2 separate regions of the Homo sapiens genome follow, and region 2 is linked to region 1. The links are contacts of gene promoters, found by promoter capture Hi-C in human tissues and cell types (Jung and others, 2019). All regions are on one chromosome and are shown on one strand. The core of a region is centred on a gene start or on the middle of the fragment in contact, and the rest is flanking DNA. Distances in the headings are between cores, read along the strand shown.

Evidence for each region. Contacts are between HindIII fragments. The study calls those that stand out against the background at their distance.
Region 2: a fragment that was not itself captured here is called in contact with the fragment with the promoter of MAPKAP1 in region 1 in 3 of the 25 tissues and cell types used here (aorta, lymphoblastoid cells and small bowel).

What each region holds. Positions count from the first base shown.
Region 1 is chr9:125,704,417-125,711,317 of GRCh38, reverse strand. It overlaps MAPKAP1 (MAPK associated protein 1), which reads left to right and starts at 4,110. Exons shown (of 12, transcript NM_001006617.3): 1 at 4,110-4,347. RefSeq lists enhancers at 3,737-3,896, 3,894-4,188 and silencers at 3,897-4,066, 4,177-4,406. The HindIII fragment of the contact is 13,511 bases long and covers 1-6,901 here.
Region 2 is chr9:125,737,000-125,743,900 of GRCh38, reverse strand. PBX3-DT (PBX3 divergent transcript) reads left to right here. Exons shown (of 2, transcript NR_122032.1): 2 at 1-147. Among named protein-coding and RNA genes, the nearest start is that of PBX3-DT, 5.5 kb to the left of the region's middle. The HindIII fragment of the contact is 6,270 bases long and covers 1-6,067 here.

The DNA.
Region 1 (6,901 bases), core at 2,861-5,360:
CCTCTCTAGTCCCGGGAACCAGAAGAAAAAGAACCTCCACCCCCTAACATGGCTTCCTTTCCAAGCTGGAGATGAAGGCTGTGAAGCCTGATTGTCATAGGTATGCCCAGGTACCTGTCCCGCTGCCCTGATGTCTATGGGAGTCCCCTAGCCAGCCCCTGGCCCAGCACCATCAGTGTGCTGTAAAAATGTTATTTTTGTGGCCGGGTGTGGTGGCTCACGCCTGTAATCCTTGCACTTTGGGAGGCAGAGGCAGGCAGACCACAAGGTCAAGAGATCGAGACCAACCTGGCCAACATGGTGAAACCCCGTCTCTACTAAAAATAGAAAAATTTGCCGGGTATGGTGGCGGGCACCTGTAGTCCCAGCTATTCGGGAGGCTGGGACAGGAGAATGGCTTGAACCTGGGAGGCGGAGGTTACAGTGAGCTGAGATCGTGCCACTGCACTCTAGCCTGGCGACAGAGCGAGACTTCATCTCAAAAAAAAAAAAAAAATTTGTATGTGTGTTAGCTCTCATGGTCCTACCACTGTACACCCCAGGTCAGGAGACAGGTCAATGTATGCTTTAATGACACTTCCACCAATACAACTCCTGCTTCTTGGAGGCTCATGCCATCCAATTAGTTTCTCCTCTCTCCTCCTCATCTACCTCCCCAGTGCTGTTCCTCAGTTGCAGATGCCATGGGGAGCACGTCTGGTTTCCTTTTCACCCCATGTCTGTCCACCATCTTGGGATGGACGTTCACAAGGATCTCAGTTCCTTGACTATCTCATCTTCAGTGATTTTCCCCCCATTCCACTTTAGCTGGGACCCCCTCTCACATGGCTCCTCCTCTGAGGTTATTTGTTGAAACATCCATCTGTGACAATAACCTCCATCCTTCTGCTTTCCTTCATCAGTGACTTCCATTACATCTATTTGAGACCTTTAGGCCAGTGATACCTGTTTTTCTGGAATTCTCTTGCTTCCCTATCCAGCATACTTTCTATGGCTCATTGTTTTAAGCACTCTTAAAAGCTGATATGACCCCATCACACCTGTCTGGCAAAATCCTTCCTTGGATCAATCCAACTTCTCATTCTTTGGGTGTGTGTATCGTGACTGCTCCAACTAGCTATAGAATAATCACACTAGCCATCATATTAGTATCACCATACATTTAGTCTCCATTCTCAACTGGGCCCTCAATACTGTCCTTGAAATCCTACCATATATCACTGCATGCCAACTTACCACAGTAACTACAGTATTTCAAACCCATAGTCGAACTTGACTACAAGGCTTCTTAAGGGTAGGGTCCCCGTCTGGCTTTTTCACCACTGAATCTCAATAGGCACTCAATAAGTATTGCTTACTGACTGAGGTATACTCATACTGGTAGGCATTAGTAAATAATAGTCACATGCCAGGCTCTGTTATATGTAAGCTACATGTATTAGGTCATTCTATCCTTGCAACAAACTAATGAGGTTATGTAGGACTTCTGTCATTCCCATTTTCCAGGTAAAGATAAGAATATTTAGAGAAGCAACTTGGAGAGATGAAGTCACAAAACTTGTAAGTGGCAGAGTGAGTATTCACTTTTTATTTTTCTAATTTTTTTTTCAAGACAGGGCATTGCTCTTTCATCCAGGCTGGAGTGCAGTGGCATGATCACGTCTCACTGCAGCCTTGACCTCCCAGGGCTCAAGCAATCATCCCATCTCAGCCTCCCAAGCAGCTAGGACTACAGGCATTCACCACCACACCTGGCTAAAAAAAATATATGTGTATATGTGTGTGTATATATATATTTTTTTATTTTTTATTTTTTTGAGACAGACTCTCACTCTGTTGTCCAGGCTGGGCTGCAGTGGTGTGCTCACTGCAACCTTCACCTCCCAGGTTCAAGCGATTCTCCTGCCTCAGCCTCTCAAGTAGCTGGGACTACAGGTGTGTGCCACATGCCTGGCTAATTTTTCGTATTTTTTTTTTTTTTTTTTTAGTAGAGACAGGGTTTCACCATGTTAAGACAGGATGGTCTTGATCTTCTGACCTTGTGATCCGCACCCCTTGGCCTCCCAAAGTGCTGGGATTACAGGCATGAGCCACCGTGCCCGGCCTATATAGAGATAAATTTTTTAAGGTAGTGATGGGGTCTCACCATGTTGCCTAGGCTGGTCTTGAACTCCTGGGCTCAGATGATCTTCCTGCCTTGGTCTCTCAAAGTGCTAGGAAATATTTACTCTTTAGAATCTATAACTGCTTAGCAGTTTTAGATAGGTCGAGTTTTATGTGTCTAGGAGACAGTCAGGCAGCTGTGCTTCAGATTGGAACTCGAGAGAGAGAGAGAGGAAAATGGAGAGTAAGATTTAGGAAGGAACAGATAACCTGGTGACCTCAGAAAATCAAATATCCAAACTTGTTCACACCTGCTGCTTTGTTAGAGTGCCTCTGACAGGTCCCTGATGGAACTGTGGTGGTGTGTGTGCAAGAGTGTGTCTGGGTGCTGAGGTGCACTATTCCCCCAGTATAGATATGTGGTAAGATACCAATTACATAAAGTAATGGGATGTAGTAAGAGATCAATCACATATGGTCATGCGTGGAATGAGGATGTTTTGGTCAATGACAGAGTGCATATGATGGTGGTCCCCTAAGATTATAACATGGTCTTTTAATTGTACCTTTTCTGCATTTAGAGATGTTTAGATACACAAATACCATTGTGTTAGAATTGCCTACAGTATATGGTACAGTAACATGCTGTACAGGTGTGCAGCCTAGAAGCAATAGGCTAATACCAAACAGCCTAGGTGTGTAGTAGGCTCTGACATTGTGTAAGTACAGTCTATGATGTTTACACAACCACAAAATCAGCTAACGATGCATTTCTTGTGTCCTCATCATTAAGTGATGGATGACCATATTTGAAATACATGGGTAGACCCACCGTGTTTTTTGTTTTTTTGTTTTGAGACAGAGTCTCTGTCACCCAGGCTGGAGTGCAGTGGCCTGATCTTGGGTCACTGCAACCTCTGCCTCCCGGGTTCAAGCCATTCTCCTGCCTCAGTCTCCTGAGTAGCTGGGACTACAGGTGCACACCACCACGCCAGACTAATTTTTGTATTTTTAGTAGAGACAGGGTTTCACCATGTTGGCCAGGCTGGTCTCGAACTCCTGATCTCAAGTGATCTGCCCTCCTCGGCCTCCCAAAGTGCTGGGATTACAGGTGTGAGCCACCGTGCCTGGCCCCATGGCATATTTATTAATAAGTTTAAAATTGGGCAGGGGTCCCTCAGGGCTGAAATTCAACCTTGAGTTTTTTCTTTTGCTAAGGTGCGTTTTTGAGAGACTTCCCCAAGCATCTTTCAGGTGGGAGAACCACTCTCACTGCACTCCCTGAATCCTTTTTCCCCCTTCATCGTGGCTTTCTCTACTGATTTCCTCCGTGAGAGAGGAAGGGAGCAGCATGAGACACACTGAACTTCTGCCCTGTGCCAGTCCTCCTACATCTCCTGGAAACCTCCCAGCAGGGCTTGAGGAAGATTATTGTCACCTCCATATTACAGATATTATAATAAGAGAAATAACTAACATTGACTGCATGTTTACTATGTGTCAGGCACTATGCTGGGTGTTTTTCAAGCATCATCCCATTCGATTCCCACAGCAATATACTCTAAAGTTGAAACTATTGCCCTGGATGGGAAAACCCGAGGCTCAGAGAGAAGTGTCACATCCTAGGACACACAGCAAGTTATAAGAGCTGGCATTTGAACCCAGGTCTTTCTCAGAGAGGCTGAGCTGCCTCATCACTCATTTCTGGACGAACTAAGGGCTTTTCTCCGTGGAAATGGGGAGAAAGAAGATTCGATGGAGAAGCCTAACACTGATTCCTGCTCAAGGCAAGTCCAGGCACTGGCGCATCTTGCCAGAACTCAGTCTCCGACCCAGGCCTTTCCCTGCACTGGAGAAGCGGCGCGCATGCGCCCGGCCTCCCTCCCGGCCCCGCCCCGCGGGAAGCTACCGCTCCTTGCTTTCAGCTCTGGGGCTTGCGCACTACGTCCCCAGCCAGAGGCTCCTTCCCGGTCGGGGACTTCCGGAACGCCGGGGTGTGGTTCCGGGTCGTGTGCGGCTCGGGGTAATAGGGCTGCTGCTCGGCCGGCCGGCGGCGGCGAGCAGCAGGGGCATGAGGGCTAACCCGGGAAGCGGCAGCTGAGCGGGCCGGGAGGAGCGCCGGTCCCCGTGGATCCCGAGAGTGCAGAGCTCGGGGCAGGGGCCGGGAGGCGTGGGGGAGCCGGGCCCTCCCCTCAGGAACGTGTCCCGGGGCCGACCCGGCCCGTAGTGTGGAAGCAGCTTCAGGTAAAGGTTGCCCCAGCCGCCAGCTCCCCGCCCGTCCGTCAGCCCACCAGCTTGCCCACCTGGCGGCCCTCTCACCCCTCCAGTTTCAGCGCTGCCCGGCGGGCCGCCTGCCGGGCCCTTGTTCAGGTGGCCCGGGCGCGTTCGTTTCCTGGCCATTTCCAGAACTGGAGGCTGTCAGGAGTCTGAGGCGGGTGTGTGGTTTAGGGGAAAAGAAGCCAGCTGACCTGGTAGTGTGGGGGTGGGGGGTGTAGTTGACTCCGGCAGTTTCTGGGCCTGCACTTGGCAATATCTAGGTGCCCTGGTCTTCATAATGTGAAAATCAAGGTTTTCAAGCATTGACTGTGTGGTCCTTGTTTCCTTGCGTCCCTTCTCCCCCTCCCCCTTAAAGAGGTTAACAGCCTTACAGACTTTTTTCTAGCTACAGTGCTGCTGGAACTTTGATTCATTCTTTGTTTATGGGAGTGGCAAGGAGTCATTTAGATTTGTTTAAGGCTGGGAAAAAGAGATTGTAGCGTAAACAAGATTATGACTTTAACCAGAGACCCCCAAATTGACTCAGAAATTGGTTAAAACTTCCTTTTGAATGAATGAAAGTCACTTTGGAAGCCCACCACAGTACCTGGCACTGTACAAAGCACCATGTTGTTATAAACCCAAATCGGCAAAGTTCAAAACTTTCCCAGGTGTGAAGAGTCAAATGGAGACCCATTGGTTTAAAAAAAGCAGCGTTCTCATTCTCTGACAAGCAGGAGAGGTGGATCCGTAATGTTAAAACCCACTTGAGCAGAAGCCTAGATATGGGTTTTATTCCTTATATTTTATGAGCCCACACAAGGTACCTAGTAAACACGGAAAGAGTTCTTGATGAAGCAATAATTGTTTTCATGTTTTTCAGTTTACACACCTGCGGGATTTGGGGCATGCTGGTAGCCCTTTCCCATTCATCTGTGTGCTCATGCCTACCTTCAACTACTGTGTGTCCCAGACTGCACTTACACCCCCTTACATCTCCTAATCTGGCTCCTGGTTACCTTTCCAGTTATGCTTGAAAAGGTCTCCTTCTTTAATTACCCCATCCTGATCCATTACTCTGAATAAGTAGGATCTCTAATCATTTTTGTTCTTTCCTATTCCATTGATTTTTGTAGAACATTCTCCCTACCTTGCCTAGGTTTCCCCTTTTCTCTTTCAGTCTATTGAGACGCTTCCCACGGCTCAGCTGAGTTGGCCTCACCCAACCAATTCAGGACAACCCCACCTGGAAATGATTTTTCCTCTAGAATTCTATAAGCGCTCATTTTTATCTACAATTATTTAACTTAGCAAATGTTTACTGAATATGGATATGTATATATATGCCAGGTACCATGCTAGGCAATTAGAGATAAATATAAGATTCAGTCTTTGCTGCCAGGGAGCTCAATTTAGTGAAAGAGAGATAAGGGAAATGAATAATTCTAACACCGTGATAAGTACATTGTGTGAGAGTTCTTGTGACAGTGGTAGGTGCGGGAGGGGAATGGGTTATTCACCTTTGAGGGATGGGATGTGGCCAGGTAATGCTTCATAATTTGAGGTAAACTAAACTTTGAGTATTTGGGTATTATATAGGGGTTTCTATTGTTTAATCATTTTAACCTCAATTTACAGATTAGGAAGACCCATAATAAATTACACAGCTGGTAGGAGACAGAGCCAGGATTCAAACCCAGGTCTGTCTGATGCCTAAATCTGTGCTTTTTCCATTACATGTCTTGCCTTTTTCTCACATCATCTCCCTCTTTTTATGCAAGTACATATTGAAACCAAAAGTTATATAGGACAAAACATATGAATGTTAAAATGAATGGTACAGAAATCTTTTAAATGTAAAGACTGTGCTCTTCCAAGGCAAGGAGATGGCAGGTAGGTTAGTTAGCTCAGCTTTGAATATGAGCAGAGAAGACAGTCTATAGAAAATAGGCATGGACTCTGGATTCAATTCCTGGTCCCTGTTCTTACAGGATATGTGACCTTCGACACATAACTCCAAGCATCACTTTCTTCAACTAGGGGTTGGGTTAGGGAATAATATTGACCACATGGAGTGTTGTGAATATTTATTGAACTAATGGGGATAAAGGGCCTGGTACGTGGTAAAGTCCCCCGAAATAAATAGCTATAAGATACAAAGGTATAATGCTTGAGGCATGGTTTTAGACTGGTGAGTGAGTTTACAGCCTGAGTCATGCAAGTCATTGCTTCTTTTAGCAGGGTACAAGGACGTAAAGTTGGAGGGGCGGTAGGGGTCAGAGTCAGTGAGGGCTTGAGTACCAGGCAAGGGAGGTAAATTCCAGTTTCTGCTAATAACTTTTCCAGTTAATAAATACTTCGAGGATCTACGATTCATTTCAGCAGTGCCAAGCAAAATGTTAGACCTTGGGGATACAAAAAGAAGTAAAATTGGGTCCCTATCCTGAGGTTATTGACATTCTAGTAGAGGAGATGTCTGTGTGTGTGCAGGTGAACCATAATAAAGTACTGTGGGTTCTAAGGTAGAAGTCCCCAGGAGGTA
Region 2 (6,901 bases), core at 1,683-4,182, 34 kb before region 1:
ATGTAGAATGTTGCGTGATCTCTGCTCAAGAATCTGAGTCACAAGGTTGATGCCTTCACAGATGACAGAACAGAAGTTCCCTGAGTACCCGAGTCTGTCTTTGCTGTTTCTAAGGTAGTGATTATTAAAATGTCAAGGGAAATGAAATTGACTTTTGGTGAGCAGACATTCATGTAAAGTTAACAGTGACAAAGTGGTGAAAACCAAGCAGATGTTCCTTCATGGCCATCCCTTTCCATGAGTTTATATTAACATCACCATTGCCTCTGTCATCAATAGGGTGACTATCACAGCAGATGCCATTATTGAGCACTTTCTTTGGGGGTACACTATCCTCTGTGTTCCCTTGCTTCATCTTATTACAGTCTCACAACAGCCTGCTTGGGATTGTTATTAAATAAGAAATAGAATGAGAGAGAGTAAGAAATTTCCACAAGACCACAAAGCCAGTAAGTACTAGAGCTTGAATTCAAATATTGATCTATGTGGCTGCAAAGACTACCGTATAAAACACTGTGCAAAAAAGTAATTTAGCCAGGCTGGTGACATGCAACTGTAGTTCCAGCTACTTTAGAGGCAGAAACAGGAGAATCACTTGAGTGCAGTAGTTTGAGGCTGCAGTATGCTATGATCACACTTGTGAATAGCCACTGCACTCTAGCTTGAGCAAAGTAGTGCTACCATTTCTCCTAAAATTTTTTTAAAAGTTATTTAAGATTATGAAGTAAAAATCACAAGACCTTAACAGATAAACTGAAAAATTAATGAAAATAAGTAACTAGGTGCTTAATAAAGAGAGAATAAACAGCTATATTAGAGGAATCCAGGTCTCAAGGCAGGGGAGGAGGGAAATTAAGGACAGTCAGACCATTCTTCAAAGCCACATTGGGTCCCACCTCTCCGAAGCTTTTCTGTGATGCCTGTCTTCTCTGATCTTTGTCTCCTCTAAACTCCCTCAGAAGATTGCAGTGAGATCGCCTCATTACACTCCAGCCTGGGCAACAGAGTGAGACTCTGTCTCATAAATAAATAAATAAATAAATAAATAAATAAATAAACTCCCTCAGTATATGTTGCCTGTAATACATAACCTACTACCATACTAGATAGTCTTGCACTGTTTGTTCTCCATCCACCTCTGTTAGTTTCCTCATCTAGGTCATAAAAATGTCAAGGGCAAGGTGTCGTAAGATGTGACTATAATATGACAGATTTGATTTTTTTTTAAATCATAGACATCTAAGAAAAGGTAACACTCTCCAACTTGTCACTTTGGGGAAACTGACTAAATGCTTCTTTTCAAAATGTATCATTGCTCCATTGCTTTAGGAATGACTATCTATTTGTTTATTTGTTTGTTCATTGATTTGTTTCTCTAGAGAGTGGGACTTGCTCTGTCACCCAGGCTGGAGTACAGTGGCGCGATCATAGCTCACTGTAACTTTGAATTCCTGGGCAATCCTCCTGCCTCAGGGCTCCTGAGTAGCTGAGACTGCAGGTGCACACCACTACACCCAGCTAATTTTTTGTATTTTTTTTGTATGGATGAGGTCTCGCTATGGTGCTCAGGCTGCGTTCAAACTCCTGGCCTCAAGGGATCATCCCACCTCAGCATCTCGAAGTACTGGGATTACAGGCATGAGCCACTGCACCCAGACAGGAATGACTCTTTAGAATTGGTCTTTACAGTTGATAGCACATGTGACATATGACCAACGTTTATCTTCTAAGGATGGATTTGATTGAGTTACCAAAGATTTAGTGGGATAACAGTCCATCCTTCTAAAGTGATGCCTTTAAAAGAGAATATTTATCAGAATGTATAATTTCTAGAAAAATTTGGTAGAATGCTCCCTCTCTTATGTCCCTTCATAGCACCCAGTACGGTGCAGTTTCATACAGAATAGACAGTTGGGGCCGACATGACCAGTTGTTGGCCTGCCATCCATTGGCTTACTTCCTTCTACACCAATAGAAGCCTGATTTTATTCTGAAGACAATGTGCTCAGTCCCAATCAAGGTCTAAAACAAGTATGAGCATCCTGTCCCCTGCCTTCTGAGCCTGTCAGGAGGAGGGGTGACCTTGCTAATTTTTTAAAAAAGGGACAGATAGGCCAGGCGTGCTGGCTCATGCCTGTAATCCCAGCAATTTGGCCACTGCACTCCAGCCTGGGCAAAGAACGAGACCCTGTCTCAGAAAAAGAAAAAAAAGGGGACAGACATGGCTCTTCTCTCCTTCATTTTCCTGGCTCTTTCCATCTTTGAAAGTAGTCCTGAATCTGGAGTGCTCATAGCAGCCACCTGTGATAGTGAAATGAAAATATGAAGACAAAATCAACATGGTTTGGTGGTTTATATCTGTGGTCTTCCTCCCAAAGCTTGTAATCCCAGACCAATAATTAGAAAAATATTACACAAATACTAATTGAAGGACATTCTACAAAATACCTGGCCAGTAATTTCTCTGGTCTTTGTACTCCTTGTAACTGTCAAGGTCATAAAGAGTAAGAAAAGTTGAAAAACTGTCACAACCAAGAAGAGCCTAAGGAGAAATGAGGACTGGATGTAATCTAGCATTCTGGATGGGATCCTGGAACAGAAAAGGGATATTAGGTAAAAACTATGGAAATTTGGCCAGGCGCGGTGGCTCACGCCTGTAATCTCAGCACTTTGGGAGGCCGAGACAGGCGGATCATGAGGTCAGGAGATCGAGACCATCCTGGCTAATACAGTGAAACCCCGTCTCTACTAAAAAAATTTTTTAAAAAAATTAGCCGGGCGTGGTGGCTGGCGCCTGTAGTCCCAGCTACTCGGGAGGCTGAGGCAGGAGAATGGCGTGAACCCAGAAGGCAGAGCTTGCAGTGAGCCCAGATGGCGCCGCTGCACTCCAGCCTGGGCAACAGAGCGAGACTCCGTCTCAAGAAAAAAAAAAAAAACTATGGAAATTTGAATAAAGTATACACTTCAGTTAGTGATAACATTTCACATTGGTTCATTAATTTCAAAAAGTACCATATTAATGTGAGATGTTAATAATAGAGGAAATAGTGTATGGGATATTAGGGAACTCTCTGTACCACCTTCTAAATTTTTTTTTCTTTTTTTTTTTTTTTTGAGACGGAGTCTCGCTCTGTCGCCCAGGCTGGAGTGCAGTGGCGCAATCTCGGCTCACTGCAAGCTCCACCTCCTGGATCCACGCCATTCTCCTGCCTCAGCCTCCGGAGTAGCTGGGACTACAGGCACCCACCACCACGCCTGGCTAATTTTTTGTATTTTCAGTAGAGGTAGGGTTTCACCGTGTTAGCCAGGATGGTCTCGATCTCCTGACCTCATGATCCACCCACCTCGGCCTCCCAAAGTGCTGGGATTACAGGCATGAGCCACCGCATCCGGCCCCACCACCTTCTAATTTTTATCTGTAAATACTTTAAAAAAAAACATTCAGGGCCAGGAGCGGTGGCTCACGCCTGTAATCCCAGCACTTTGGGAGGCTGAGGCGGGTGAATCACGAGGTCAGGAGATCGAGACCATCCTGGCTAACACGGTGAAACCCCGTCTCTACTAAAAATACAAAAAAATTAGCCAGGCATGGTGGCAGCCGGCTGTAGTCCCAGCTACTCGGGAGGCTGAGGCAGGAGAATGACGTCGACCTGGGAGGTGGAGCTTGCAGTGAGCCGAGACTGAGCCACTGCACTCCAGCCTGGGTGACAGAGCGAGACTCTGTCTCAAAAAAAAAAAAAATAAGTAAATAAAATAAAACATTCATTCAAAACAAAAATAAACATGGTAAGTGGGGTAGAAAGATAAGGAGAGCCTAGGTGTCTGCAGACATGGTCCAACATCTGAGCCAAAGAAGCAACTGCTTTCCCTTGGATTTCTAGTTTTGTGAGTAAATTCATCTCCTGTTTTAAAATCCTATTGGCTGGGTTTTCTGTATCTTGCAGAAAAGCTGATATAGCACTATAAACACTTATATGACAGATGTATGTGTGGATGGATGGATGGATGGATGGATGGATGGATGGATGGACTGATGGATGGATGGATGGAATAGCCTAGCACAATGCCCGACACATAGTAGGAGCTCCTAGAGTGGGGGAGATGATGTATGATAAAAAAAAAAATTCCTCTCGTCTTTGTATTGGATTCCTGGGAGGTAACATCTAAAACCCTTGAAATCTCCCAAGCTATAAGAGTGTTTTTATTATTCATGAGGCCCTTAGATCACATCTAATTTTATGCTAAAGTGATGACTCAGGATGGTGGCTGGTCACCAGAAAGACCAACCATGTGATTAGAGTGTTGGGGCTTTGAGGGAGCTGGAGATTGAGTTCAGTCATAAGGCCAATGATTCAATCAATCATGTCTATATAATGAAACTCCGATAAAAACTCTGGACACCCAAGCCCAGAAAAGCTTCCTGGTTGGTGAATACATTGATGTGCCAGGAGGGTGATACACCCTGACACCATGGGGAAAAGCATGGAAGCTCTGCATTCAGGACCCTCCCAGCTCTTGCCCTTGACCTCTCTACTTGACTGGCCCTGGTTTATATCCCTTATAATTAAACTATAATGCTGAGTATAGTGCTTTCCTAAGTTCTGTGTCATTCTAGCAAATTATAGAACCTAAAGGGGTCACAGGAACACCCACATTTTCAGCCAGTTGGTTAGAAGTACAGGTGGCCAGGGGACCTCAGAACTTGTGGCTGGCATCTGAAGTGAAAGCAGTCTAGTTGGGCACCATGCCTTTAACTGGGATTAATTGACTGTCATTTCTAAGAGGCCTACTTAAAGGAACCTAATTTAATTGAGACAAATTCCTTTTGCCTTTTCCCCACCTCCTTTTCCCAGCCTGTAGTTGATGTCTGGAGCTCCAGGAGTCATCTTGGCCCATGAAATGATCTTGAGAGTGGAGGTCAGGCACTAGGATAGTGAAGCAGAAACTTAAGAACCTGGGGCACGGGTGGCACCATGAAGCCACCATCTAAGGGATAACACCAACCCTTGATTGCTTCTTCCACACGGCTCTTACAGAAGAAGGAATAAACTTCTGTCTTATTAAATCCACTGCCATATACTTATTTCCAGTACAGGCAGCCAAACTTAATCCTAATTAATAAGGAAGCCAGGGTCTAACATAGAAAGAGTACAGTTGTAGGCACTGTAGCCCTGTAGTTAAGAGCTCTGCATCTGGGATCAGGCAAACTTGGATCTGAATCCTAGCTCCACCACTAAATGGCTACTTGGCCTCGGTCAGGTTATTTAGCCTCTCAGCTTTCTCATCTGTCAATGACAGTAATAATAGTAATAACCTACCAGCCAGGCATAGTGGTTCATGCCTGTAATCCCAGCACTTTGGAAGACTGAGGCGGGCGGATCACGAGGTCAAGAGATGGAGACCATCCTGGCCAACATGGTAAAACCCCGTCTCTACTAAAAATGTACAAAAAATAGCTGGGTGTGGTGGCACACGCCTGTAGTCCCAGCTACTTCGGAGGCTGAGGCAGGAGAATCGCTTGAACCCGTGACGTAGAGGTTGCAGCGAGCCGAGATCGCGCCACTGCACTCCAGCCTGGCAACAGAGCGAGACTCCATCTGAAAAAAAAAAAGACTTAACACACTGAGGTATAGTAAAAACTATCATTACAATGAATATGAGAGTCCATTGTAAAAGGTAAATCTCTAACATTTGCTTCCCGGTCCTCCACATCCCAAGATTCATCCTCAGTTCTCTGCCCTCCTCTTCCTCCTCTTCTTTTCTCTCTTCCCCTTTCTTCTTTCTCCTTCTCTTCCTTTTCCTTTCTCTTTATCTGCTTCCCTCATCTTCCTATTCCTTTTCTCTTCCTTTTCTTTTCTCTTCTCTTCCTACCCTTTCACCCTCTACAATCTAGTTAGTTCACCCCACAGCCAGCCCTGCACCTGTAATTCCACCTCTTGCTTCATTTTGAGAATTCCAACACCTCTCCTAACAACCAGACCTCACTCATCTGGCCTGCCAGTGCTTCAAACTCCGATTCTCCTCTATATTCATCACCTATTGCTGTGAAACAAATTATCCCAAAACTTCTTGGCTTAAAATAATAAACACCCGGCCGGGCGCGGTGGTTCACACCTGTAATCCCAGCGCTTTGGGAGGCCAAGGTGGGTGGATCACCTGAGGTCAGGAGTTTGAGACCAGCCTGGCCAACCTGGTGAAACCCCATCTCTACTAAAAATACAAACTTAGCCAGCCGTGGTGGCACATGCCTGTAATCCCAGCTACTTGCGAGGCTGAGGCAGGAGAATCACTTGAACCCGGGAGGCGGAGGTTGCAGTGAGCCGAGATCGTGCCATTACACTCCAGCCTGGGCAACAAGAGTGAAATTTCATCTCAGAAAAAAAAAAAAACTTTGAAGACAAGTAATGTTAACCCTATTGTACAGCTACAGTTGTGGAAATAAAAGCTGCTGACACTGAGTGCTTAGTTTGTGGCAGGCACTGTGCTAGTGGTTTCTCATATAACATCTAATGACACCTTCACAACAACCCTATGAGATGGGCTTTAACCTCCCCATCTATAGTTGAAGAAAGGAAGACTTAAAGACGTCTACTTTTTGTACAGCCTATAGATATGAGGAAGAAAGAAAAAAGGTGTCCACTTTTTAATTTGACCAAGGTCACATGGCTGGTAAATGAACTGTGATTCAAAAACTTCATCTACCTCATCTGGCCAGGTACGGTGGCTCACACCTGTAATCCCAGCACTTTGGGAGTCTGAGGGGGGCAGATCACTTGAGATCAGAAGTTGAAGACCAGCTTGGCCAAAATGATGAAACTCCATCTCTGCCAAAAAATACAAAAATTAGCCAGGCATGATGGTGCATGCCTGCAGCCCCAGATACTCAGGAGACAGAGGTGGG